Linked DNA regions of Homo sapiens: regions 1, 2, 3, 4, 6 and 7 are each linked to region 5. The links are contacts of gene promoters, found by promoter capture Hi-C in blood cells and fetal thymus (Javierre and others, 2016). All regions are on one chromosome and are shown on one strand. Each heading gives the region's core, a stretch centred on a gene start or on the middle of the fragment in contact. The rest is flanking DNA. Distances are from core to core; before and after follow the strand shown. Region 1 overlaps PHKA2 (phosphorylase kinase regulatory subunit alpha 2). Region 2 holds the start of SCML1 (Scm polycomb group protein like 1). Region 3 has its middle 16 kb from the start of PDHA1. Region 4 overlaps MAP3K15 (mitogen-activated protein kinase kinase kinase 15). Region 5 holds the start of CDKL5 (cyclin dependent kinase like 5). Region 6 overlaps PHKA2 (phosphorylase kinase regulatory subunit alpha 2). Region 7 overlaps PDHA1 (pyruvate dehydrogenase E1 subunit alpha 1).

Region 1 (3,428 bases), core at 622-3,121, 520 kb after region 5:
TTTAAGAAAAATGTGTGAGCCACAGAACCAGTTCTCCTTGTCTACAAGCTGGTTTTATTTATTTTTAAAATTTTAAAGAAATTTTTATTTTTTTGAGACAGGGTCTCACTCTGTCACCCAGGCTGTAGTACAATGGTGTGATCTCTGCTCATTGCAGCCTTGACCTCCTGGGCTCAAGTGATCCTACCACCTCAGCCTCCTGAGTTGCTAGGACCACAGGTACATGCCATCACACCTGCCTCACTAATTTTATTTTATTTTTTTTGTAGAGACAAGGTCTCACTATGTTGCCCAGACTGGTCTCGAACTCCTGGGCTCAAGCAATCCTCCCTCCTCAGCCTCCCCAAGTGTTGGGATTACAGGCCACTGCACCTGGCCTACAAGTTGGTTTTTTGTTTTTGTTTTTGTTTTTGAGACGGAGTCTCATTCTGTCACCCAGGCTGGAGTGCAGTGGCGCGATTTCGGCTCAGTGCAAGCTCCGCCTCCCGGGTTCACGCCTTTCTCCTGCCTCAGCCTTCTGAGTAGCTGGGACTACAGGTGCCCGCCACCACACCCGGCTAATTTTTTGTATTTTTAGTAGAGATGGGGTTTCACTGTGTTAGCCGGGATGGTCTCGATCTCCTGACCTCGTGATCCGCCCACCTTGGCCTCCCAAAGTGCTGGGATTACAGGCGTGAGCCACCGCGCCTGGCCAAGCTGGTTTTAAATGACCAGCTCACCGTCCCTACTAAAGATACTATGCTATTGCCTGGCTCCAGGCTTGCTGACTCCAAAATTAATACTTCCCTTTCCAATATTCCAACATAAAATTATAATCAGCAGAGGGAGAACAACACATTGGCAACTTAGAGATGAAACAGTTGAGGAAAGATAAGAAACAATATTTAAATACAACCTCTCTTGGAGTTTTATAACCATCTCGAAGGAAGCGACAGCATCCATAACGCCCCTAATAAGAGAAAGTACATTCGATGAGCTCAGAGAAATTTTTTTGCCTTTTTAATTCAAGTCAGCCCTGCACCCTCTTTCCCATGAATCTTTTAGTAATGAATTTTATACCAAGTGTTCTTTGCTGTCAGTATAGTTATTAATATATTTAAGTAATAAGCAAAATCAATTCAGGTTTGATCGGTACTTGGAAGGGAACGCCAAAACATTCCATCAGAGTATCAGGGCTGCAAGAGTTATTACCAAGAGTTCAGTGAACGACCATGCCTTCATTCTGATTTACTGTATTACACAGAGACCTAAAAGGACCCTCACTATTTAGAAAAGCCACCAAGGCAGATACTTGGATTGGTTTGCTCCTACTTGCAAGATTGGAAAGCTGCAAGGACATTCCCCAGGCTCCTGGAAGTTAGGCTTTGGCTGCAGAGGAGGCTCTAAGGTCAGATGCACCTCCACAAAGATTAGCAGAAAGGGAGGGGGCAGCTTCCTGTGCTTAGGACTGTCGCTGCTGGTTTTGGGCTGCAGGCTCCAGGGTTCTGCCCCAGCTTCCTGGATGCTACGAAAGGAGGGCAGGGGCAGCACTCTCTTAATCTGACGCCCTTAATCCATAGATCACAGCTTTGGGTGTCCATTCTCCAGTTCCGTAAGTATGTGGAGGCTGCTACAGCAGATGTGGCTCTCGCGAGGGTCATGGAGGCAACCACGTCCCTAGCCCTAGCGACCAGCACCGCACTGTCCTGGGAGTCATCCCAGGAGGCTGAGCCTAGAACCCGCTCTTCTTGTAAACACTTCATTCTCTGTATTCATTCCCTTCCTACTTCAACTACCTAAAGGGGTTCCCTTTTTCCCACTGAACCCTGACTGAGACAGCTGCTTTCTTTTGGGAATATGATTGGAGACATAGGGACTCCAAGGGACAAAAGCATTTTTCATGGAACCTAAGTAGGACAATCAATCTGCAGATTTCAGCTTAGGGAAACTTACATTCTTTGATAATTTTACCGATAGTTTCAACTGGCTGGAGTATTTAATATTCTCAGTTTAGTGTATCACGGTTACTGCATTTCACCTCAAAACAGGGATTATTTTAACCTGAAGGTAACTTTGGGATTGGCAAGTCCATTGAAATTGTGTGTAAAGTTTGAGGATATTGGGACATATGCATTTTTTTTTCTGGCAGTGACTCTATACACTGTCTGTGACCTCTAAAGGGTTAAGTAGCTCTGCCTTAGAAGTATGGTACTGGTACAAACTGGGGTTCAAAGGTGCCTGCCTGAGTGCCAGTTCTGCTTCTCAAGGAGAGAACCAAGCCACTAAATCACTCGGAGACTTTGTTTTCTTGCCTGTAGACTCAGCTTTGAACGCTGTATGCATCTGCTTAGATAAATCAAGCAATTAACCTCATGGGGAACTGAGGCATGGGTGAGCTGCTCCATGCACATCACACAGGACAGAAGGGCACCAGCATGACTAATGCTTACCTGGAGCTTAGAAATAATTTCATTTTTGGTCACATTTACAAGGTTTACATCTTCCACTGCAAAGGCCGGGAAGGAAATAATGGAAAGAAGTCCAGCATCAATTTCTTTAGATGTCGACGCTCTTGGCAGCATGGAGAACAGAATAGACTGAATGAAAAACAAAGAGGTGGTTTAACCTGGAGATGCGCTAATAGGCGCAGTATCTAGGGACCATGAGCTCGGCCCCAAGGGAACATTCGAATACGGTTGCCAATTTTGAGTAGAGCTTTGTCCTACCAACATGGCCCCTGCTGGCCAACACTGTATATCCAGCCAATGATTCCTATTCCTCAGGCGAGAAGTCAGGGCTTGGGGAGAGCATGGTACTGTCTGAAGCCCACGCTAAGAACTGCTTGTCTCCCTTCCTTCCATGCCCTATTGACTTTGCCAGACCTTTAGGACATGTAGGGGAGGAACTATAGGGCCACCTGTGTCAGTAGGCTAAGCTGTCTTGGCTATGAAGACAGAGACCAGAAAAGAACACATACATGGGGCCAGCTTGGAGAAATGTCTGGCTTCTGTGGAATGTGACCAGTTGGACTGGGTGATCCAGAAACCACTTAAAGGAGGAGTCAAATCCAGAAGATCTCATGAACACTCAGACAAAATGGTAAACCACAGAATTAGTTTAGTCCTAGAATCTTTCTAGGGTTACTTAGAGGCACTATAATATGGCCTCAATTATAAATAAGTGGCTGGATTAGGCGCTGGAAACTTGTAAAGGAGTTGAAATTATCAGGAAAAGTTTGGGAAAGGAAGGAATTAACACTGAGATCTAACACGTACAGACATGGGGCTAGACCCCTGCAAACATAAGCTCATTGAATCTTTCATATGAAGAAGGACTTAGGGTACCATGTCCAATTCACACCTGAGGACCCTGAGACTTCGAGCAGCTAGTAAGTGACAGAACTAGGATTCTAACTCAGGCCCAGCTGGCTGCAAAGCTCACGCATTTCC
Region 2 (3,558 bases), core at 313-2,812, 690 kb before region 5:
CAGAAAAGTTTGATTACCTAGAAAGTGTGTATAGAAACTGCAAATAAACGTGACTGCAATTAAACAACCGGTTTCTCTCTTCACTGTTACGTAATTGATTTCTTGGGGCTTCGCAACAGTGTTTTACAGGCAACAGGACATAAGGGCAGGGTCTGTTATGGCAAAAGTAGGAGCAAAAAGAACATAGACCAGCCTGTCCAACATGGTGAAACCCGTCTCTACTAAAAATACAAAAATTAGCTGGGCATGGTGGCAGACGCCTGTAATCCCAGCTACTCTGGAGGCTGAGGCAGGAGAATCGCTTGAACCCAGGAGGCAGAGGTTGCAGTGAGCCGAGATCACACCGCTACACTCCAGCCTGGGCAACAAGAGCAAAACTCCGTCTCAAACAAAAACAAAAACAAAAAAAAAACATATACTATATCTATAATGGGCTTTAATCTAGCTTCGTATTTGAGAGGAAAAATGATACATTTCCAACGTCCAGTATACTTTCTTTGTAGCTCCTCTCTGGGCCAAGAAAAGATGTATAGCTTTACTTTGAAATATCTGCCTGCTTTGCTTCTGATAATTACTCAGACTGTGTCTCCTTCCCAAGATGAGCAGCCTCGATATAAGTATGTAAGACTATATGCCACTAGATGATGTCACATAGCCTTTATTACAATAGCAAAATTCTATGCCAGGTACTGTTCTAAGTGCTTTGCATACATTAACTCATGTAGTCCCCATATTATACCCATTTTACAGATGGGGAAACCGAAGCACAAAGCGGTTACTTGGCTTGCCTAAGGCCATAGGAGGACTGTGTTGGAGCTGGGGGTCCAATCCAGTAAATCTGCCTTCAAGGTCTGCGTTAGTTCCCCAGTCCAACTTGTGGGTGCTGGAGACTGGAAATATCTTGCCCGCCCCCCACCCTGGCCCCCCTCGCCCTTCCTACCAGACCTGGCTCAGGGCAACTGCTAAGGCCCCGCCCCTCTCCTCATTCCAAGTCAATCACTGGCGTGCGTCCAGGAAACCCAGTTTACGACGACGTCTCTGGTGCGTCACAGAGCGCGGGGGAGGGGCGGGATCACATTAAAAAAAAAAAAAAGCTTCGGACACCCCAACAACGAAGGGGGGACACCACGTCCCTAACTACAACGCCACTAGAAGGGTTGCGCATGCGCGCCAGCCTCCTGCGCAGCCGCAGAAACCACTCAGCGCGCGAGTCTCTGAAAGGCCTAACGTCCATTTTCAATCCTGCGGGTCTTGCGAAGGAAAACCTGAGGTAAGAGGCCCCGCCCCACAGCCATCTCCTCAGCAAATTCCCGCCCTCGGCCCCGCCCCACAGCTATCTCCTCAGCAAATTCCCGCCCTCGGCCCCGCCCCACAGCCATCTCCTTAGCAAATTCCCGCCCTCACCCAAGGACTGGGAGAGCACCCGCGGATTGGCCGATCAACGGTGACGCCTGTCAGTGGCCAGACTCCGATTGGTCAGCGGGTAGTCCCGCCCCCCCCCCCCCCCCCCCCCCCCCCAACCGCGAGTGTGGGAATTCGGCGTCGCGGGAGCTCTCTGATCCACTCAGGGGTCAGGGCATCACTGGTCTCGCGTGCGCGTGACCAGGCCCGGTTTCCGGTGCCAGGACCTTTCCGAAGCGTCGAGTGGCCTAACGGTCACAGCTGTCGCCCATCGGAGAGGCAGGACTACTGCGAGCAGTTTTACCGCGACCTCCGGAGGCCGGCGTGACAGGCTCTGTCACTAAAATAGGTCTGTCCAGTCGTACTTTTTCCTCACCTTGAACTTTCCGTCACGGGAATACACGATTTGGCTTAGGGGCCGGGGCTCTCCTGAGGAGAGAGGGTTTGCTTTGCGGGGAAGAGCGAGTCTTGACTTCGCAGCCTCCAATTTCAGCCGCGGTGTGGAGGGGGGTGCTTTGGGTGGTCCCCACAGCCTTTCCGGAGTGCCCGCGCGTGTAAGCTTTTGAGATTTGACAATTTGTGAAGTGCTTGGTGCTGACTTTCGGGGACGACAGGATCCTTTTACAGTCATTCTCCTGTCAGGGGAGGCAGGTGGGGAGCGAGGAAGGATCCAGATTTCGTTAACAGAGCTTTGAGTTTAAAGAATTGACAAACTCCCGAGTTGATTTCCTGTCAGACCTTTTGCGGTTGAGACATAGAGTCTGAGGCTTTGATGGTAACCGCGTTTGATTTAGAGACAGACTGTGCAGCTTCGCTGTTTTATTGTAAATACGTAAATGAGGAGGAAGAGAAAAACGTAGGGTGTTGGGAGCAGAGGCGGGAGGCGGGAGATCCTGCGAAATCGGAGTCCCTTTGGAGTGGGGGAGGCCGTCGAGGCGTGCGAGGGCCCGGCCCCCTTGCCGCGTGGTCGTTAACAGGAAAGGCCCTGATTTGGTTGGTGGCGGATCGCGTCCCTCCCTCCTCTCCCCGGCTCTCCCCGAGTGCGGCAAACTGGCTTCAGGTTGACTAAAAGATAGCGATTTTCCAAGCAGCTTTGCCGCGCGGTGTTTTCTAAAGCGGGGCGTGGGCTGGGTGCCCTTTTGGGCCTCACTTGTCCGGCCTGCGGCAAGTGCTGGGCGATGGGATGCGGTTCTGGCGGCAAAGGAAGGGCTGCCTTTGAGAGTCCCGCAGGAAGGTTTAGAAAGTGATTGTTCTTAAAACAAACAGAGCGTTTTGCTGTGTGTTCCTCAAAGTGGTCCCGGTGGGAGTGGCGCCTCATTGTGAGCTGTGCCTTATCTGATGAATTAATGGCAGGTGAAAGCCTTGCGCCTCCGGAGCGAATATTTACGACTTTTGAAAATGTCTTTAATGTCTAAAAAAAGTCTTTTAGAAAATCAGACGGCCTCTTGTTCTTATGTTATCAAGAGTTTAGATTTCTGTGGTAAATATAAGTGAGTTTCATTTTAAGTAAACTCATTTTACGAGATTTGAGATTTGAAAGTGAAATTAATTAATTTTGCACAATCTAGCCTTGGGCTCTGAGAAAATGTTGTAAAGCTGTAATTAATCTTGTGGGACGAAGTGAAAAGGAACTAAAGTGTATGGTGTAATGAATAGTTTAAATTTCTGTGGTAAATACAAGTGAGTTTCATTTTAAGTAAACTCATTTTTATGGGATTTGAGATTTAAAAGTGAAATTAATTAATTTCGCACAATCTAGTCATGGTTGGGCTCAGAAAATGTTGTAAAGTTGTGATTTATCTTATGGAAAGAAGTGAAAAGGAATTAAGGTATATGGTGTAATTAAGAGTTTAAATTTCTGTGGTAAATGCAAGTGAGTTTCATTTTAAGTAAACTCATTTTTACGGGATTTGAGATTTAAAAGTGAAATTAATTCATTTTGCACAGTGTAGTCATGGTTGGGCTCTGAGAAAATGTTGTAAAGCTGAAATTATTTATCTTGTGGGAAGAAGTGAGAAGAAACTAAAATGTGTGGTATTATCAAGAGTTTAGATTTCCGGGGTAAATATAAATGAGTTTCCTTTAAACTCATTTTTGTGGAATTTGAGGTTTAAAAGTGAAATTAATTTTGTAGAATCTAGTCATGGTTGGGCTCTG
Region 3 (3,471 bases), core at 1-2,500, 900 kb after region 5:
TTTAAAACTCCCAATGTCCGGGCAGTGCCCCGGACAATTACATCGGAATCATGCATAGGACTCAGGTATAAGGGCTTTGAAAGCTCCCAGGTGATTCTAATGTAAAGCCAATGATGAGAATCACTGAATTCACTCTGTCTCTTAAACACACACACACTTTTATGTGAACACATAGAATAACAGGCATGAAAAATGCCCACAAAACTGACTATTGTGGTAACCCCTAGAAGAGGACTAAGATTGGAAGGGCTTTCTTGTTTGTCTGTTTGTTTGTTTTTGAGACAGAGTCTCACTCTATTGCCCAGGCTGGAGTGCAATGACATGATCTTGGCTCACTGCAACCTCTGCCTCCTGGGTTCAAGTGATTCTCCTGCCTCAGCCTCCCAAGTAGCTGGGATTATAGGCACATGCCACCATGCCTGGCTAATTTTGTATTTTTAGTAGAGACGGGGTTTTGCCACATTGGCCTGGCTGGTCTCGAACTCCTGACCTCAAGTGATCCACCCACCTTGGCCTCCCAAGGTGCTGGGATTACAGGTGGCATGGGCTACCTTGCCCAGCTGGAAGTGTTAATCTAGGGCTGAGATCAGCAAACTGGATTTGGCCCATGGACCAAATTCAACCAGCAGCTGTTTAATAAATATAGTTTTATTGGAACACAGCCATGCCCATTTTGTTTACCTATTACCTGTGGCCGCTTAGTTGCTACAGTGGTAGAGTCCAGCGGTTGTGACATAGGGACCATATGACCTACAATGCCTATCATATGTACTGTCTGAAGCTTTACAGAAAAAGTTTGCTGATCACAGCTCTAGAAAAACTTTAATCTGTGTTTTTGAAAATAGAGAATTCACTCACATTTGTTTAATTTTAAAATACTTAAACACTGATAAATAAAAATGTAGATATCCAAACTAGGAAAGGAGAAAAGTATGAAAAGATATAGCATATTAATGAATTAATTAATGCTGATGTCTATATAATGGGATTATTTGTGATTATTTTCTTTTTTGCATTTTTTGATATTTTATAAATTAGCCTATATTTTGTGTGTGTGTGTATATATATATATGTGTGTGTGTGTGTGTGTGTGCATATATATATGTGTGTGTGTGTGTATTTTTTTTTTTGGGTGGGGGGAGGGGGTCTCACTCTGTCACCCAGGCTGGAGTGCAGTGGTGTGATCACAGCTTACTGCAGCCTCTGCCTCCCAGGCTCAAGCAATCCTCCCAGCTCAGCCTCCAGAGTAGCTGGGACCACAGGCATGCACCACCACACTTAGCTAATTTTTGTATTTTTTTGTAGAGATGGGGTCTCAGTATGTTTCCCAGGCTGGAGTGCAGCGGCACAATCATAGCTCATAATAGCCTCAAACTCCCAGGCTCGAGTGATCCTCCCACCTCAGCCACCTAAGTAGCTGGGACCACAGGTGTGTGCCACCATGTCCAGCTACTTTTTTGTATTTTTGGTGGAGACAAGAGTTTTGCCATGTTGCCCAGACTGGTCTCAAACTCCTAAACTCAAGCAATCTGCCTGCCTCGACCTCCCAAAGTGCTGGGATTATAGGCATGGGCCACAGCTCCCAGCTATATTTCTAAAAAACACAAAACTTATTTGAACAAGCCATCTGGGTCTGCTTTGATGAGGGTGTGTCCTCCTGCACATTGTATGTCTCTATCGGGTTGTCCCACAGGAACTTGAAATGCAACTTGTACAGAACCAAGCTTTCATATTTCCTCCTTTCTCAACCCAACCCCACAGGCAGTGGGCTCCTCCTGCTGCTTCCCTGGAGCCAGTCCCCTTCCACTCTGTGCCATAAGTCCTCAGCTGCAGAATTAGCTTTGCATTATCCTTCACACCACACGAACTGCCCTCCTTCCTCCGGCTCCCTTCTAGCCCCCTTTCCCCACTGTCACCAAAGTCATCTTTCTAAGATGGAAATCAAATTGAAGCGGCCTCTTGTCTGGAGAGGGTGATGGAGGGGATAATTACGGTGACCCCACTTGGCTTCCATCTTTTGCTGGTGTCACCCACTGACTCTGTTGATGCAGTTCATACAGGTCAGCCTCCCGGGCCACGGGAGAGGATGGAGAAGGTGGAAAGTGGGATTTTGATAGTAGAAGCAGAAGATACACAGCACCGCAACTAGCCAAAATGAAACAGATTGCTCTCCAACCTGCCTTTGCTGAACGTGCATGTACATATATTTTTAAATATATATATATATATATATATATATATATTTAAAAATATATAATAGAGACAGGTCTCTCTATGTTGCTCAGGCTGGTCTTGAACTTCTGGCCTCAGGCGATCCTCCTGCCTTGGCCTCCCAAAGTGCTGAGATTATAGGCGTGAGCCACCACGCTTGGCCGCATGCATGTACTTTGAATCGCCTGTCTTCATTTCCTTCCACCCACACTACCTGCCCATTTCCCATACATTGGCACCCCCTTCTCTGTGTTTGAGGTCCACACCGCCTCTGGATGCCTATGCCCTTGTGCTTTGACCATTTGATGATGCCTCCTTAAACTTTTCTGTAACCATAGGCCAGTGTGGCCTCCAAGAGAAAGTGTTGCTGGAGCCGAGGCATGGATCATGAGAAGAGGAATCTGTGCAGAGATCTAGAGGGGGGGCCACTCTATGCAGAAGAAAACAGCAAGTTCAAAGCTCTGAAACAGAAGAGAGCTTGGGTGAAATGTTTGAGAAACAGACAGTAATCATGCAATCCAGTGTGCAGAGCTGAATGCTTGTCCATAACGAGAATGATCAGCTCCACAACCCCACACATAAACAGCCCTCCATCACTGGGTGGGAAAGGAAGCCTTACTTTGACAATGTGTTTCAGTTCTCTGGATCTGCTGGCTCATCTGTGAAGTGGGAGGCTTGGCTGGATCGAGCCTCAATTCACCTTCTACTCTAAAAAGGTCTAACTCTTTCATCCTACAAGGAAAACAGCTGCCAGTGTCATTAGTTTATTTGAAAATACTGAGTGGGCATCTGCTATGTGTTCACTATGGAGCCAGGGCAGCCCACACTGTCAGTGCACCAATGGTAACACCCTTGGCACTCACCGTTCCCATGCCCAATGGTGGATTCTTCCTGCAAGCACCCCTCACTCTCCAGCCAGGGGCTGTGTCTGGCTATGGTGGGCCTGTGCTGAGCCAGCTTGCAGGGAAGGCCAGGGTGACAGGGAGTTCCCCCCAGGAGAGCCCTCCCTCTGCCAGTGATCAATGAGAGTGGGAGGATCAATACCCCAGCTTCCTCTCCCCTCAGCTGGGACAATCCCAAGATGTGTTCTGCACTCTCTCCTGGAGCTTCCCAGGGGTATGAAGCCCCAGTTGTCCACAAAGGTAACGTGCTCCTTAGAATGCCTTATACTGGCTTCTTTCTCTTCCCTGTCTCACTTCCACACTCCCTGACTGGTGCTTCTGTCAAATAAACTACTCACACTCAAATCTTTTGTTTCTT
Region 4 (3,139 bases), core at 403-2,902, 940 kb after region 5:
CTCTTTATCTGTTCTCTGCCCGTAGGGGCCTGCTGGGTTCTCTGTAATACCTGTAACGATTGGCAATTTGTTATATATTAGTCTAACCATAAAACTCTTCAAAAGTAACCAGTTGGATTAATAAATGATTCCAGAATGTAAATGTGATGTGAAAAAGAGATGAATTAACCCTGTATCACTGAACCACGCTAATACGTATTACACAATTCATAATTCTGAGATTCACTTTCTAGAAAGCCTCCTCATCTAGGATACCTTCAGTTAGTTTGGAATTTGACATGTTAGGTCTACCACTTTAAATGCTTATCCCCACATCTTTCAAATGCCTTTCCTTAGGAATCACATCCCTAACTGCACTGGAAATCCTACAAGGAAATAGGTTTTAGTGTTGAGGTCAGAGCTTATCTAGTCCACATTCCAAGAGGTAGCTCTGGAGCTCGTTTCTAAGTGGCCCAAAACGAATGTCAGGTTGATGGAGGCATATTTATTTACTTATGCAGTAAACTACCCTTTTTAGGTGTCCAATGTGCTATGAAGGTGGCAGCACAGATACAGAAATGACTGTCACTCCCAAAAGTCCTCATGTGCCCTTTACAATCAGTCCCGTCACCTCCCCATTCTGATTCTGTCCCTGTAGTTTTGCCTTTTCTGGAGGAAAAGGAATCATGGTATGTGGCCTTTTGAATCTTTTTTTTTTTTTTTTTTTTTGAGACAGGGTTTCACTGTCACTCAGGCCAGAGTGCAGTGGCATGACCTCGGCTCACTGCAGCCTCAACCTCCTGGGCTCAGGTGATCCTCCCATGTCAGCCTCCTAAGTAGCTAGGACTACAGGCATGCATCCACCAAGCCCAGCTGGTTTTTTTCTATTTTTTGTACGGATGGGGTTTTGCCATGTTGACCAGGCTGGTCCTGAACTCCTGGGTTCAATTGATCTGCTAGCCTCAGCCTCCCAGAGTGCTGGGATTACAGGCACGAGCTACGGTGCTGGCTGTGAATCTAGCTCTTTCACTTAGCATACTGCATTTACAATGCAGCCATGTTGTTGAATCTATCAGTAGTCCCTTTTTATGATTGAGAAGTAGTCTAGAATCTACTGGAGTCCTGGATTAACAGAAGATAACCTCAAATGTTTCTTCAAAGCTAACTAGAATATTAGCTAGATGTTAAAGTCTGTCTCATTGGAAAATGACTTACAATTCGATTTTAATTTTAACTGAAGGTGATACAATTCTTGAGTTTTCTGTTCTAGAGTTTGCCGCAGAAGATTCTGGTACTCTCTCTCTTTTTCAACTAGGTGTTCCAAAAGTCTGGTTTAAAAAAAAAAAAAAAAAGCCATTATCCAGAGAGCATTCAACACCATTCAATTTAACTCAAGCATCTGTTGTGCATACATTAGAGATGGAAAAAAAATGGAAAATGGGACAAGTCTAAGAGTCAGCCTAGAGAGGGAAGCACATGTGTTTCTTCAGGTTCTGTGACTCAGACTTCAGTCTGCAGAGGGGAACCTTCCTTGTGTTTTCCTCCCCTTGACAACAAAGGCCAGTGCTCACAGCTTGGATATATTTTTGCAATGGACTCAATGTGTGCCCCTCACCCGGCCCAAGTTCATATGTTGAAATCCTAACCCACAAGGTGATGGTGTTAGGAGACGGAGCTTTGAGAGGTGAGGTGAGAGGAGTGTCCTTGTGAAAGGAGACCCCAGAGGCTCCCTCATCCCTTCCACCATGTGAGGACACACCGCGAGAAGATGGCCATCTGTGAATGGGGAAGCAGGCCCTCACTGGCCACGGAATCTGCTGGCACCTCGATCTTGGACTTCGAGTCTCCAGAACTGTGAGAAACACATTTCTGTTGTTTATAAGCTGCCTGGTCTCTGGTTATTTTGTTACAGTAGCCTGAACGCACTCAGGCAGTTTTGTCTCAAAAACGTATCGTGAACCAAAAGATGCCGATGTTAATCAGAACTCAGCCAGAAGGACGATGTGATTATTTAAACCTGGCTCCCTAAGTCAGATAAGGCAGCTGAAACTAGAATAGAATGGTAAGTTTCTTTCCTCCTCACACAGGGACTAAACGAAGGGGACAGAAGCCCCTGCTTCTTATTTTGTTTTTGTTTTTTTTTTTTTGGAGACAGAGTCTCACTCTGTGGCCCAGGCTGGAGTGCAGTGGCACAATCTCGGCTCACTGCAACCTCCGCCTCCTGGGTTCAGGCAATTCTCCTGCCTCAGCCTCCCGAGTATCTGGGACTACAGGCATGCGCCACCATGCATGGGTAATTTTTGTATTTTTAGTAGAGACAGGGTTACACCATATTGGCCAGGCTGGTCTCGAACTCCTGACCTCAAGTGATCCACCTGCCTCGGCCTCCCAAAGTGCTGGGATTACAGGTGTGAGCCACCGCACCCAGCTGGAAGCCCCTGCTTGTAATGGGGCAGAGCAGGGACAGTGAGTGAGACATGCTGCTCTGCCGGTGGGGAGGATGGCTCCTGCCAACATCCACCAAGCACTTCCTACCCAGAATCCAGGACTGTGCCAAACACTGCATGAATTCAGTCACTGAAGCCCTGCGGCACTTCTAGGAAGCACTGGTTGTTCTAAACCCCTGTTTTGAAGCTGAGGTAACTGAGGCAGAGGAGTTAAGTAACGCCCAGAGTCCACAGGCTGGGCTCTTCCCAAGGGACCGCCTCCTGAAACCCAGTCTTGCTCATGGGCTCTCTGGGATCAGATATGACTTGGCACAACTGTGCCTCAAACTTCCCCCACATGCCAGCTCAGGCATAGCATGCCTTGGGGGAAAGGGCTGACAGATTGGAACCACGTCTAGCTTTTGTTGGGGCTCAGAAAACAGTGCCCCCAAATGGCCTCAGCAGCAGCCTCAGAAGAAAAAGTTTTCCTCTGACCTTCTCCTGCCTCCCTCTCTCAGTCCATTCTCCTGGAGGCACCATAGAATCCCTCTTCCCCAAAGCGGGGCACAGAAACCAGAACTCCTCCCCAAAGCCAGCCACAAAACCTAAAAATACGACTCTAACTTTCCCTCCGCCTTTCTGTGTAAAAATTGGTTATAAAGAAATTCTTGGCCGGGTGCGGCAGCTCAAGCCTGTAATCCCAGCACTTTGGGAGGCTGAGGTAGGCAGATCAC
Region 5 (3,522 bases), core at 362-2,861:
CTCTGATATACAGGGATGAAAATGGAGTGATTGCCCCAGGAGTTCTGGATCCACGTGGGTGAAGCTAGAGGTCACAGCACTGTTACTTTGCATCTGGAGGAGGCAGGAGACTCTGCGAAGCCCTCTGTTGTTGCCTCTGACTCCATTTTCCCTCTTTGCTAATTCATTGCTCCTACCTGTAAAATTTTCTAATATGCTTCCACTTTCATTTCCTCATCAAATATTCACCGTTATGAAAAAGAAAATCCTATTGGCTTGGTATCAAGTGGCCAAACTGAGCATGCTGCTACATATTGTTACCAGATTCACTACAGGAATAGATTAAGTGGATTTTATCCCAAATATCTATTTCCTATTACAGTACTGCATCTTTCTAATTTGGTGGCAGCTATGACCTCATACACTGCCTATTTTCCGTGCTTTTCCTAACCAGAAGAGACCCTATTTTTCTCCTTTGCTTGTTAAAGCGAAAATAATTATGCAGCTTTCCATAGATTTGTCCCCAATGTCTTTTTAAAAAAATTTTTTTTCTTTATTTTCTAAAAGTAGCATTGGAAATGTTATCTCCTTCAATTTCATCACCTCTTCATCCTCCTTGGAAACCCGATCCATGGTGGGTATTAAGATCTTTACATTTGTACTGGTTGGGCGATGACTTCATTGCTTTCAAGCCAGCTGGGGGATCTTGTGTGGCAGAGCATCGGACCGAAGCGGAGGTGTGGGTCGTTGCTGCTGCTGCTGCTGCTACTGCTGCAACAGCTCTTTGCACGCGCCCAGCTGCTGTGTAAGGAATCCTCAGGCTGCTAGGTCTTTGCGCCTAACTCACCCAAGGGACCGCAAGCTGCTGGATGAGTGTACGTGTGAGTGTGTGTTGTGTGTGTGCATATGTGCGTGTGTGTGTGCACACGCAGCGGCAACAGTTGGGCAGCAGCAGCAATGGACTTCGATATCATTTTTACCAACAACAGAGATAAACCATCCTCCATCCTGTATTTCTCAGCTCCCGCCCCGAGTATGTTCTCCCCCTCTTCTCCGACTTCCCCCACCCCAGCCCCCGGCACGGGTCCCTCCGGAGGGAGGGCAGGGTAGCTGCGCTGCAGGCAGGATTCCCTCTTTTTTCCGCAGTGACAGGCGGATTCCGGGGCCTCCTCGCCACCTCCTACCCCCGCAGCCACCCCTTTCTCAGTCACGATCTCCCCACCCCACCACCGTCGACCCTCTCCCTGCTTCCCCGCTCTACCCCCCGGCGTCGACTCCAGGCTCGGGCCCCGCCCCTCTCAGCCTCTCCAGCCCAGGTTGCTAGGGCTTGGCGGGGCAACCAAACCTGGCGTGCCAGGAGGCGCGGCGCGCGCGTGAGCGCGCAGGCGAGCTTGTATAAGGAACCAGCGTTCTTCGGCTTCGGAGACTCGAGCACGAGCGGCGCGAGCCCGAACCCCAGGACAAGCGCTTCCTCCTCATTGGCTCCTACCAGAAGGGGGCGGGGTAAAGGCGGGATCGGGCAAAACCTGAGGTGCTTTCCCATTGGTCCGAACGGGCCGGCTGGGGCGGGGCAGTTAGCAAAATAGGCTGCGCGTTCGCTTCTGCTAGAGGGCGGGGCCGGAGGTTTCGATTAGTTGTCTCTGCCGCTGGGGAAGGTAAAGCGGCGACGGCGTCCTCAGGAGCTGTGGGGTCCCCTGCTAGAAGTGGGGGACTCGGCGGGGTGAGTAGTCGCGCCGCCACCCGCCCGCCAAGCCTTCTTACCCTTACATCGGCCCCGCGTCCACCCAGCTTCTCCTGAGAGTGGAGACCCACCCAGTCCCCCCGGGCGGACAAGAGAAGGGGCGGGGGCGCCGGTTCCCCCGGAACGGGGCGACGCGGTGAGGACGTCCCAGCCCGGAGTAGCCCCTCCTCAGCGCTCCCCTGCGCCTCTGGAAGGGCTTCCCCCGAGGGGCTGGGGCTGTCTTTTGGGGTGTGGGGAGGCGAAAGGGTGTGAAAGAGGGGCGGCGGGTCGAGCCCGCCCCGCGGGGTTCCCCTCAGCGGCGGGTCTGCGGCGTCCCCGCCCCGCCGCTCCCGCGGCACGAGCTCCCCGGGGCTTGCGGCGAGGTAAGCCCCTTCCCGCCGGCGCCGAGGAGGGGCCTGCGCGCCCCAGCCCCCTGCCCGAGTTCGGAGGGAGCCCGAGACTCGCCAGGGGCCGTCAGTCGCGGCCCGGGCCCTTCTGACCTTGGCTGCCCGCGAGGGTGGGCTAGCGACCGGGCGCCGGCCCCGCGGCTCCGCAACCTCCCCCGGACAAGTTTCAGGCGATGCTGTGAAGTTCACGACTGGCATAGTGCGGGGAAGAAGAATGGCCCCTTCTCAGACCTTCATACCTTTTGGACCCTCATAGAAATCGGATTCTGGGATTTGGAACCGTCTCCCAGAACGAACAGGTCCTCCTTGCATTGACACGTTTTGTGCCCACGTTGGGGAAAAAAATAACCTGAACATATTTCAGTGTAAAGGCAGATCTTCCTTGAGGGTTTTGTTTTTCGCTTCATTTGAGTGTTAAAGAACAGATGCCTGAATAAGAAAAGCCTGACCTTAGTATCTCTACAGTGAGATTAGACGGGTGCTGTGATATTTAAGTAGTTGCAGATCAGTATTCTGTTAGCACAATCTATTTTAATTGGCTGGAATTTAAGCTGATTTTAGAAAGTATTGTTGACACCGAATGATTTCTTTCTGTGCATCTGAATTAGGTTTGTTTGAACGTAATGGTTATATAGTTAATGTAAAAGATTACACAAATTAATTTGTCTGAGAGCGTTTGTCAGAAACAGGAGACAGAGATGTGTATAGAACAGGATTATCGTTTTAGGTAACATCTGCTGGAACATTTCCAGCTTGTTTCTTTCTTGCTGTAGGGTTACAAAAAAGACATCTTCACCGAGGCTATTCGGAATTACATGTGAGTGACACTTAGATGTAAATTTGTTTTTATTTCCTTCAAGTGTTTTAAAATGTTTTGTTCACAAAATGTGAAGAGGCTATATTTACTTGTTCCTGTATGTTAGTGTTGAAGGTGATAGTATGATCTTATGATTAACAATCCAATTAGGGTCCATTAATAATAGATTTTTAAAAAAGGCGTGCTGCTTTTCGAGAATATGATAGGTTGAGTACCTAGCAAGACTTCTAATTTCTTTTTATTAAAAGTACTATTTTAGGATTGAGAATTTTTGGCGTTGACACTGAAACCAGGAATAAGGAAGCCTGCAGCAGTCTTAGCAGTTTGACACCACCAGTAGGTGTTTCTGTTGACAAATGCAGAGAAGAGAACATTTGGGAAGGAAATCTTTTTTTCGGGGCGGGGGTTGGGGGGGAGGTGAGGGTGGTTGAGGGGGGAAGGAGCCAGAAGAGAGAAGCTAATGCTGCCAGCACTGTATGCTGAGCATTTCACAAGTACAAGGAAACCTAATTAGGGAAAAATTCCGTTTGGCTCTATTAAATAATAGAACTACAAAAGAGGCATACTAAATAAAGTTAACCATTCCAAGAGTGTTAGAT
Region 6 (3,306 bases), core at 488-2,987, 550 kb after region 5:
TGACATATTCAGAAGCAGGCTTGCTAAGTTTCCAAACATATATGACAGGCATCAGCAATTGTTTGTTATTGCTTTCTAATTTTCTTGCATTTTGGCCAAAAAAAAATGTGGCATGCATAAAGTTGATCTTTCAGTATTTTTTGACATTTCCCTTATATTCTAATCTGTCATCACTTTTTGAAAAAATATCTTGTGAAGCTGAAACAAGTAAGTATTTCCTATTGGTTCAGTGCGGAATTCTATGTAAGTGTACTTAATCGAATTTGTTTCTTACGGTGCTCCAATTTTCTATGGCCTAATTATTTCTCTGCTTGATCTAACAGTATCTGAGAGAGGGGGTTTAAAAACTCTCACTAAGATTATGGATTTGTCAACTTCTCCTATAGTTAGGTCAAATTTTGCTTTACATACTTTGAAGCTATGTTGTTAGTATTCTGCAGATTTAAAATTGCTATATTTTTCTTAGTGAATTAGCCCTCTGTCATCTAGCAATACCATTCTGTATCCCTAATATAATTTTTAAAAAATTTCAAAGTCAAAAAAAAAATTTTCAAAGTCTACTCGGTCTGATATTCATACATCAACGTATTTTTGGTTAGTTTTGTCCAGTATATCTTGTCCCACTATATTACTTTCAACCTCTCAGTATCCTATGTTTTAGGTTTTGTCTCTTACAAATGACACACACCTTTTAAAAAGTTTTAAAAAAATAATTTCTATTACCTGGGCCAGGTGCAGTGGCTCACGCCTGTAATCCCAACACTTTGGGAGGCCGAGGCGGGCAGATCACCTGAGGTAAGGAGTTTGAGACCAGCCTGGCCAACATGGCGAAACCCGTCTCTACTAAAAATACAAAAATTAGCTGGGCATGATGGTGACTGTAATCCCAGGTACTCGGGAGGCTGAGGCAGGAGAATTGCTTGAACTCGGGAGGCGGAGGTTGCAGTGAGCCAAGATCATGCCACTGCACTCCACCCTGGGTGACAGAGCAAGACTCTGTCTCAAAATAATAATAATAATAATAATTTCTATTATCTGGTGGATTTCAACATTTATACTCGTTGTGACAGGTGGAGATACTCACCACTATACTAATGAGGAAGACTCTTGTGATTACTAATACTGTATAGTTGGATTTATTTGCATCTTATTTTGTACTTTATATTTACCACACTTTTTTCTTTATTTCCTACCCTCCCCAGCAGCCTTTTCCTCCCTTCACTCAGATGATCAGATTTTCTTTATTCTGCAATCGTTTTTAAAGTTATATATTCCAGAGGCCTGGCGCGGTGGCTCACGCCTATAATCCCAGCACTTTGAGAGGCTGAGTAGGGCGGATCATGAGGTCAGGAGATGGAGACCATCCTGGCTAACATGGTGAAACCCCGTATCTACTAAAAATACAAAAAATTAGCCGGGCGTGGTGGCACATGCCTGTAGTCCCAGCTACTCGGGAGGCTGAGGCAGGAGAATCGCTTGAACCTGAGAGGCAGAGGTTGTAGTGAGCCGAGATCGCACCACTGCACTCCAGCCTGGGTGACAGAGCGAGACTCTGTCTCAAAAAAAAATTAAAATAAAAATAAAGTTATATATGCCACATATATTAATGGTAATGCTTAAACACAAACTCTTATCTTAAAAGCTAGGATAATACCTTCATCCTCCTTCTTAATGGGATAAGGCCCTCAGAATGCTTTCACTCCTGGCCGGGAGCAGTAGCTCACACCTGTAATCCCAGCACTTTGGGAGGCTGAGGCAGGTGGATCACTTGAGGTCAGGAGTTCAAGACCAGCCTGGCATGGTGAAACCCCACCTCTACTTAAAATACAAAAATTAGCCAGGTATGGTGGCACACACCTGTAATCCCAGCTACTCCAGAGGTTGAGGCAGGAGAATCACTGGAACCCAGGAGGTGGAGGCTGCAGTGAGGTGAGATCATGCCACCGCACTCCAACCTGGGCAACAGAGCAAGACTGTCTCAAAAAACAAACAAACAAACAAACAAAACAAAAAAACACTTTCACTCCAGTCTCTTCCTATTCTTCTGCCATATTATTATTTTCTAATACTTAATTATATCTTTTTTAACTCTCTCCCAAATTCCTCTTTATTATTGTTACTATTTGTTCCATACTCCATGTTTTATTTATTCCATTCTTCTCATTTTAAATTCCGTGGCCATTAAATAACAGTATTTACTGTCCCAGTCTCTTAGTTATTTGCTTTATTATACCAAATAATCTGTCGTTACAGTGAACACTGCCTTGACCATTGTTTTTCCTTCTGATCCATATTCTCATCACCATTTCATACTTAATACTTTTATTAAGGAGCCTTCAAACAGCTGTTAGTGAAAAAAATGTACAAAGTTCATATTTCTTACCTGAGCCAAAACAATCTAAGAATTTCTTTTAAAGGCAACAAATGTTTAAAGATACTTCCTAGAGTATATATATTTACAAAATCAAACCTGCAAAAGGACCTTTTTGTAACCATAGCTCTTTCATTCTTTGCATTAAAGATTCAAATAATATTTAGCAGCAAGTATATTTGGCAAATGACTAATGGGAAAAGTTCTTCTCTTTCACAGATACAGGAAAAGGAATTAAGATGTTAGCTTAACTAATAATTTAATTTAATAATTAATAATTAATATTAAATAATTTAATTAATTTAATAATTTCAGCCCTTACTGAAATTATGTGAACCAACTATTACCTCTAACAGAAGAATGATTGTAGGGAAAAGAAAGAGAGATCAGACTGTTACCTGTGTCTATGTAGAAAAGGAAGACATAAGAAACTCCATTTTGATCTGTACCCTGAACAACTGTTTTGCCTTGAGATGTAACTTTAGCCCCAACCTTGAGCTCACAAAAACATGTGTTGTATGCAATCAAGGTTTAAGGGATCTAGGGCTATGCAGGATGTGCCTTGTTAACAAAATGTTTACAGGCAGTATGCTTGGTAAAAGTCATCGCCATTCTCCATTCTCGATAAACCAGGGGCACAATGCACTGCGGAAAGCCGCAGGGACCTCTGCCCAGGAAAGCCGGGTATTGTCCAAGGTTTCTCCCCACTGAGATAGCCTGAGATATGGCCTCATGGGACGGGAAAGACCTGACAGTCCTCCAGCCCAACACCCGTGAAGGGTCTGTGCTGAGGAAGATTAGTAAAAGAGGAAGGCCTCTGTCTCCTGCCTGCCCCTGGGAACTGAATGTCTCTGTATAAAACCCGATTGTACATTTGTTCTATTCTGAGATAGGAGAAAAACCACCCTGTGGCAGGAGGCGAGATATGCTGGCAG
Region 7 (3,266 bases), core at 1-2,500, 920 kb after region 5:
GATAATTAGAAGTTTTCTGTGTCACTCAACTTGTCATGGACTAATTAGGAACCATTCCTGAAGCTTTTAAGGATAGAACTAAAAGTTTCACTTTTATTTTTTTAAAGGGTGGAATAATAAACTAACGTGTTGACTCTTTGTATTTTGTAATTCTTCATACTTATGGATGTCTTTTTACTTAACTATAAGTAACAAAATAGATCAACGTTTTAGTTTTTTATATTATACATGTAAAAAGACATTTTGCATATAAGCCTTTCACAAAAATCTTGACAGTAAACAATAAGCAGTGGCTCACCCAAATTAGGCAGACTTACTGCACTAGACTCCTACCATCTGTGTGATACTCCATGAAGGGAGGGAGAAGGGGAGGGAGAAGGGTAGGCAGCTGGTCTGATGGCTGTGACACAAGATAATCCCCTTAACCTCCCAAGACGCTGTGTGTTTTTTCCTTTTTTATTCTCCCTGGTTTACTTTCGTTTTGTTTGAGACAGGGTCTCTGTGTCACCCAGGCTGGAGTGCAGTAGCAGGACAGCTCACTGCAGCCTTAGCCTGCTGGGCTCAAGCGATCCTCCTGCCTTAGCCTCCTGAGTAGCTGGGAACACAGGCATGTGCCACCACCACACCCAGCCAATTAAAAAAATTTTTTTTTTACTAGAGACATGGTCTTGCTACGTTGCCCAGTCTGGTCTCCATCTCCAGGCTCAAGCAGTCCTCCCACCTCGGCCTCCCAAAGTGCTGGGATTACTCTCACTCTCTTAAAACCAGGCAGGTAGGGAGATTTATCTCAGGCTTAAAGATTGCCATTGTCTCATCAAAGAGTGTTTGGTGTGAAACTTTGAAATGAATATCAAGATTGTGTTTTTATTTTTGAATAAGGTTTATAGTTTTCATAGTTCTTATTTCATGGAAGAAGATTGAATGCATTTAAAATGTTATTTTATTGTTTGCATTTCTGTATGGCTCCTTTTGTGAGATCTTTACTAGCAATGTTTTGGCTTTATAAGTGGTAGGTAAGAGTTTTAATTTACACTGTTAGAATCTGGAATTTTTGAAACGTTTTTCCTCTTTCACATGAATGGTTCCTATGTATTTAGGAAGTTAAAGTTTTACTTTTTTTTAATTAATTTTTTTTTTTAGGCTGGAATGCAGTGGCACAGTCATAGCTCACTGTAGCCTCAGGTGTGTGCCACCATACCTGACTAATTTTTTAATATTTATTTTTGTAGAGATGAGAGTCTCATGTTGCCCAGGCTGGCTTTGAACTCCTGGCTTCAAGTGGTCCTCCCACCCTGGCCTCCCAAAGTGCTGGGGATTATAGGTGTGAGCCATCATGCCCGGCCTAGTTTTTATTTTTTAAAATTTGAGTGGGTTGTTCGTGGTCTCTGTCAGAGAGGAATCCCATTTAACAGAGAATCTTTTTATGGCTCTCCAGAGAAAATGAATGGTAAACTTATCTTTTCAACAAGCTCTCACTCAGAAATGATACACACACACTTCTGATAGGACTTTTAGCTTCTTTAACTTTGTTCCTTTCACTCATATCAGTGGTTCTTATTTTTGAGATACACAGTAATGAAGCCATGGGAGAAAGTATCTAAGTAGCTTTCTGGCAGTCCTAATCTTTGCAGGCGCAAGATTACAGGCGCATGCCACAGCACTGGGCCCCTTCTTGCTCTTTATTGTATAGCATTATCCTGCCTCATTGTTTCAACTCTAGGATTGAGAAAGAAGTTACCTTTTCTCTGTTACTGTCGCCTGGCTGGTTTGGACTCCTGCCTTCCAAAAACTGCAGTTTCTGTAGTTGTATTTGGAAATTTATTTCACAATACAATAAATTTCTGGCCCCACAAAATATTTATTAACTGCCAAGAATAACACATCTGTTTGATTGCTAAATATAACCATTGATTTGCTGTTTCACCTTCTCTCAGCTTTACTTCTTCCCAAATTCCTAAATTTCCTTCACTTTTTCTGAGATACATTAGTGGACTGTCTCTGCCTGTAAGTTAACTGAAACACTGATTCCTAGTATTTCAGTTGTTTTCCTCCAGCACTGTCATTGTCTGTGTTTGTTGGCTTTGTCCAATAATGGTCTATTGAGGGGTGAAGATATACGTAATTAGCTTTCTGCCTATTGGCTTGTACACTCCAGGGTATACTTGGCAGATCAGTCTTAACTCTTCTCACCAAGATCAGTCCAGTGCTGGATTAGGTAAGGTATGAACACATCAGATGTGCTTTTTATGGAGAAATCATGTTGGTTTACACGTCAGTGTGTGAGAATGTGGCAGAAGGGAGCTAAAATAGTATGATAATACTACTGGATAAATTTTGTGGTCTAACCTAAACCTTAGCCATTACATAGAATACTTTTGCTGTGAGCAGGTTTGCTCAGTTGTAAAACTGGAAAGGAATCATTTCTCACCCCCCGCCTCCAAGCTTTTTACCTCCAAACAGTGACAGCCACCCAAACATCAAGAGAACAGTGTTTCAGAGAACATTTCTACTGGGGCTTCAGGAGGAGCCTGTCCAAGATTTAGGCTGTTCAAATTATAAATTATAAAACAGCTGGCTCAAGCCCATTGTGTTTAAGTCAGAGAGTGCTAAGTATCTTTTCTTTTGTCTTGTCTCCCTAAAGTATTTATCTCATACTTCAATCAATTTAAAATATTTTTTCTTACAGATCCAATTTGATAGAAGAGTCAAGTTTGCCTAGAGTGGAGATTAAATCATAGTTTTATTTGAAGTATAATTTTGGCTTGCTCAAAATGAACAGTATCTGGTTATGACTAAGAATGGCATGAAAAGGCCAGACGCAGTGGCTCATGCCTGCAATCCCAGTACTTTGGGAGGCCAAGGCAGGTGGATCACCTGAGGTCAGGAGTTGGAGACCAGCCTGGCCAACATGGTGAAACCCCATCTCTACTAAAAATATAAAAATTAGCCGGGCGTGGTGGTGGGCACCTGTAATCCCAGCTACTCGGGAGACTGAGACAGGAGAAATCACTTGAACCCGGGAAGCGGAGGTTGCAGTGAGCCGAGATCGCACCACTGCACTCCAGCCTGGGTGATAAAAGCAAAACTCCGTCTCAAAACAAACAAACAAAAGAATGGCATAAACAGACACAGCTCACAGATGATCTAGTCTCTTTAGCCACTAATTTCATTATATTCTCACTATAATTTCTTTGAAAACAAAGGATGGGTTTGTTTTTTGCCCCTCTTTGCGCTGCTTGCCTTCAGATGCGGGATAATCCTGTTTC

The links. Contacts are between HindIII fragments. The CHiCAGO score rates a contact against its expected background, and 5 or more counts as called.
Region 1: a fragment that was not itself captured here is called in contact with the fragment with the promoter of CDKL5 in region 5 in 1 of 17 cell types (neutrophils); the score reaches 5.0 in neutrophils.
Region 2: the fragment with the promoter of SCML1 here is called in contact with the fragment with the promoter of CDKL5 in region 5 in 1 of 17 cell types (non-activated CD4 T cells); the score reaches 6.1 in non-activated CD4 T cells.
Region 3: a fragment that was not itself captured here is called in contact with the fragment with the promoter of CDKL5 in region 5 in 8 of 17 cell types (naive CD4 T cells, activated CD4 T cells, naive CD8 T cells and 5 more); the score reaches 10.1 in naive CD4 T cells.
Region 4: a contact is called between a fragment that was not itself captured here and the fragment with the promoter of CDKL5 in region 5, in 1 of 17 cell types (naive CD8 T cells). The highest score is 5.3, in naive CD8 T cells.
Region 6: a fragment that was not itself captured here is called in contact with the fragment with the promoter of CDKL5 in region 5 in 5 of 17 cell types (naive B cells, total CD8 T cells, fetal thymus and 2 more); the score reaches 8.8 in naive B cells.
Region 7: a contact is called between a fragment that was not itself captured here and the fragment with the promoter of CDKL5 in region 5, in 9 of 17 cell types (total B cells, non-activated CD4 T cells, total CD8 T cells and 6 more). The highest score is 10.4, in total B cells.

The regions. Positions count from the first base shown.
Region 1 is chrX:18,939,100-18,942,527 of GRCh38, forward strand. It overlaps PHKA2 (phosphorylase kinase regulatory subunit alpha 2), which reads right to left. Exons shown (of 33, transcript NM_000292.3): 8 at 2,430-2,576; 9 at 896-949. Among named protein-coding and RNA genes, the nearest start is that of PHKA2, 43 kb to the right of the region's middle. The HindIII fragment of the contact is 3,992 bases long and covers 1-3,428 here.
Region 2 is chrX:17,735,931-17,739,488 of GRCh38, forward strand. It overlaps SCML1 (Scm polycomb group protein like 1), which reads left to right and starts at 1,563. Exons shown (of 8, transcript NM_001037540.3): 1 at 1,563-1,750. It overlaps NHS (NHS actin remodeling regulator), which reads left to right. Exons shown (of 9, transcript NM_001291867.2): 9 at 1-64. The HindIII fragment of the contact is 866 bases long and covers 1,093-1,958 here.
Region 3 is chrX:19,326,085-19,329,555 of GRCh38, forward strand. No RefSeq gene overlaps it. Among named protein-coding and RNA genes, the nearest start is that of PDHA1, 16 kb to the right of the region's middle. The HindIII fragment of the contact is 943 bases long and covers 780-1,722 here.
Region 4 is chrX:19,361,544-19,364,682 of GRCh38, forward strand. It overlaps MAP3K15 (mitogen-activated protein kinase kinase kinase 15), which reads right to left. Exons shown (of 29, transcript NM_001001671.4): 26 at 1,195-1,307; 27 at 1-50. PDHA1 (pyruvate dehydrogenase E1 subunit alpha 1) reads left to right here. Exons shown (of 11, transcript NM_000284.4): 11 at 1-175. Among named protein-coding and RNA genes, the nearest start is that of PDHA1, 19 kb to the left of the region's middle. The HindIII fragment of the contact is 5,010 bases long and covers 1-3,139 here.
Region 5 is chrX:18,423,997-18,427,518 of GRCh38, forward strand. CDKL5 (cyclin dependent kinase like 5) reads left to right here and starts at 1,612. Exons shown (of 18, transcript NM_001323289.2): 1 at 1,612-1,699. RefSeq lists an enhancer at 1,233-1,527 and a silencer at 1,863-1,932. The HindIII fragment of the contact is 7,790 bases long and covers 1-3,522 here.
Region 6 is chrX:18,977,154-18,980,459 of GRCh38, forward strand. The region is part of intron 1 of PHKA2 (phosphorylase kinase regulatory subunit alpha 2); the gene reads right to left. Among named protein-coding and RNA genes, the nearest start is that of PHKA2, 5.3 kb to the right of the region's middle. The HindIII fragment of the contact is 6,188 bases long and covers 1-3,306 here.
Region 7 is chrX:19,345,852-19,349,117 of GRCh38, forward strand. The region is part of intron 1 of PDHA1 (pyruvate dehydrogenase E1 subunit alpha 1); the gene reads left to right. Among named protein-coding and RNA genes, the nearest start is that of PDHA1, 3.6 kb to the left of the region's middle. The HindIII fragment of the contact is 2,379 bases long and covers 62-2,440 here.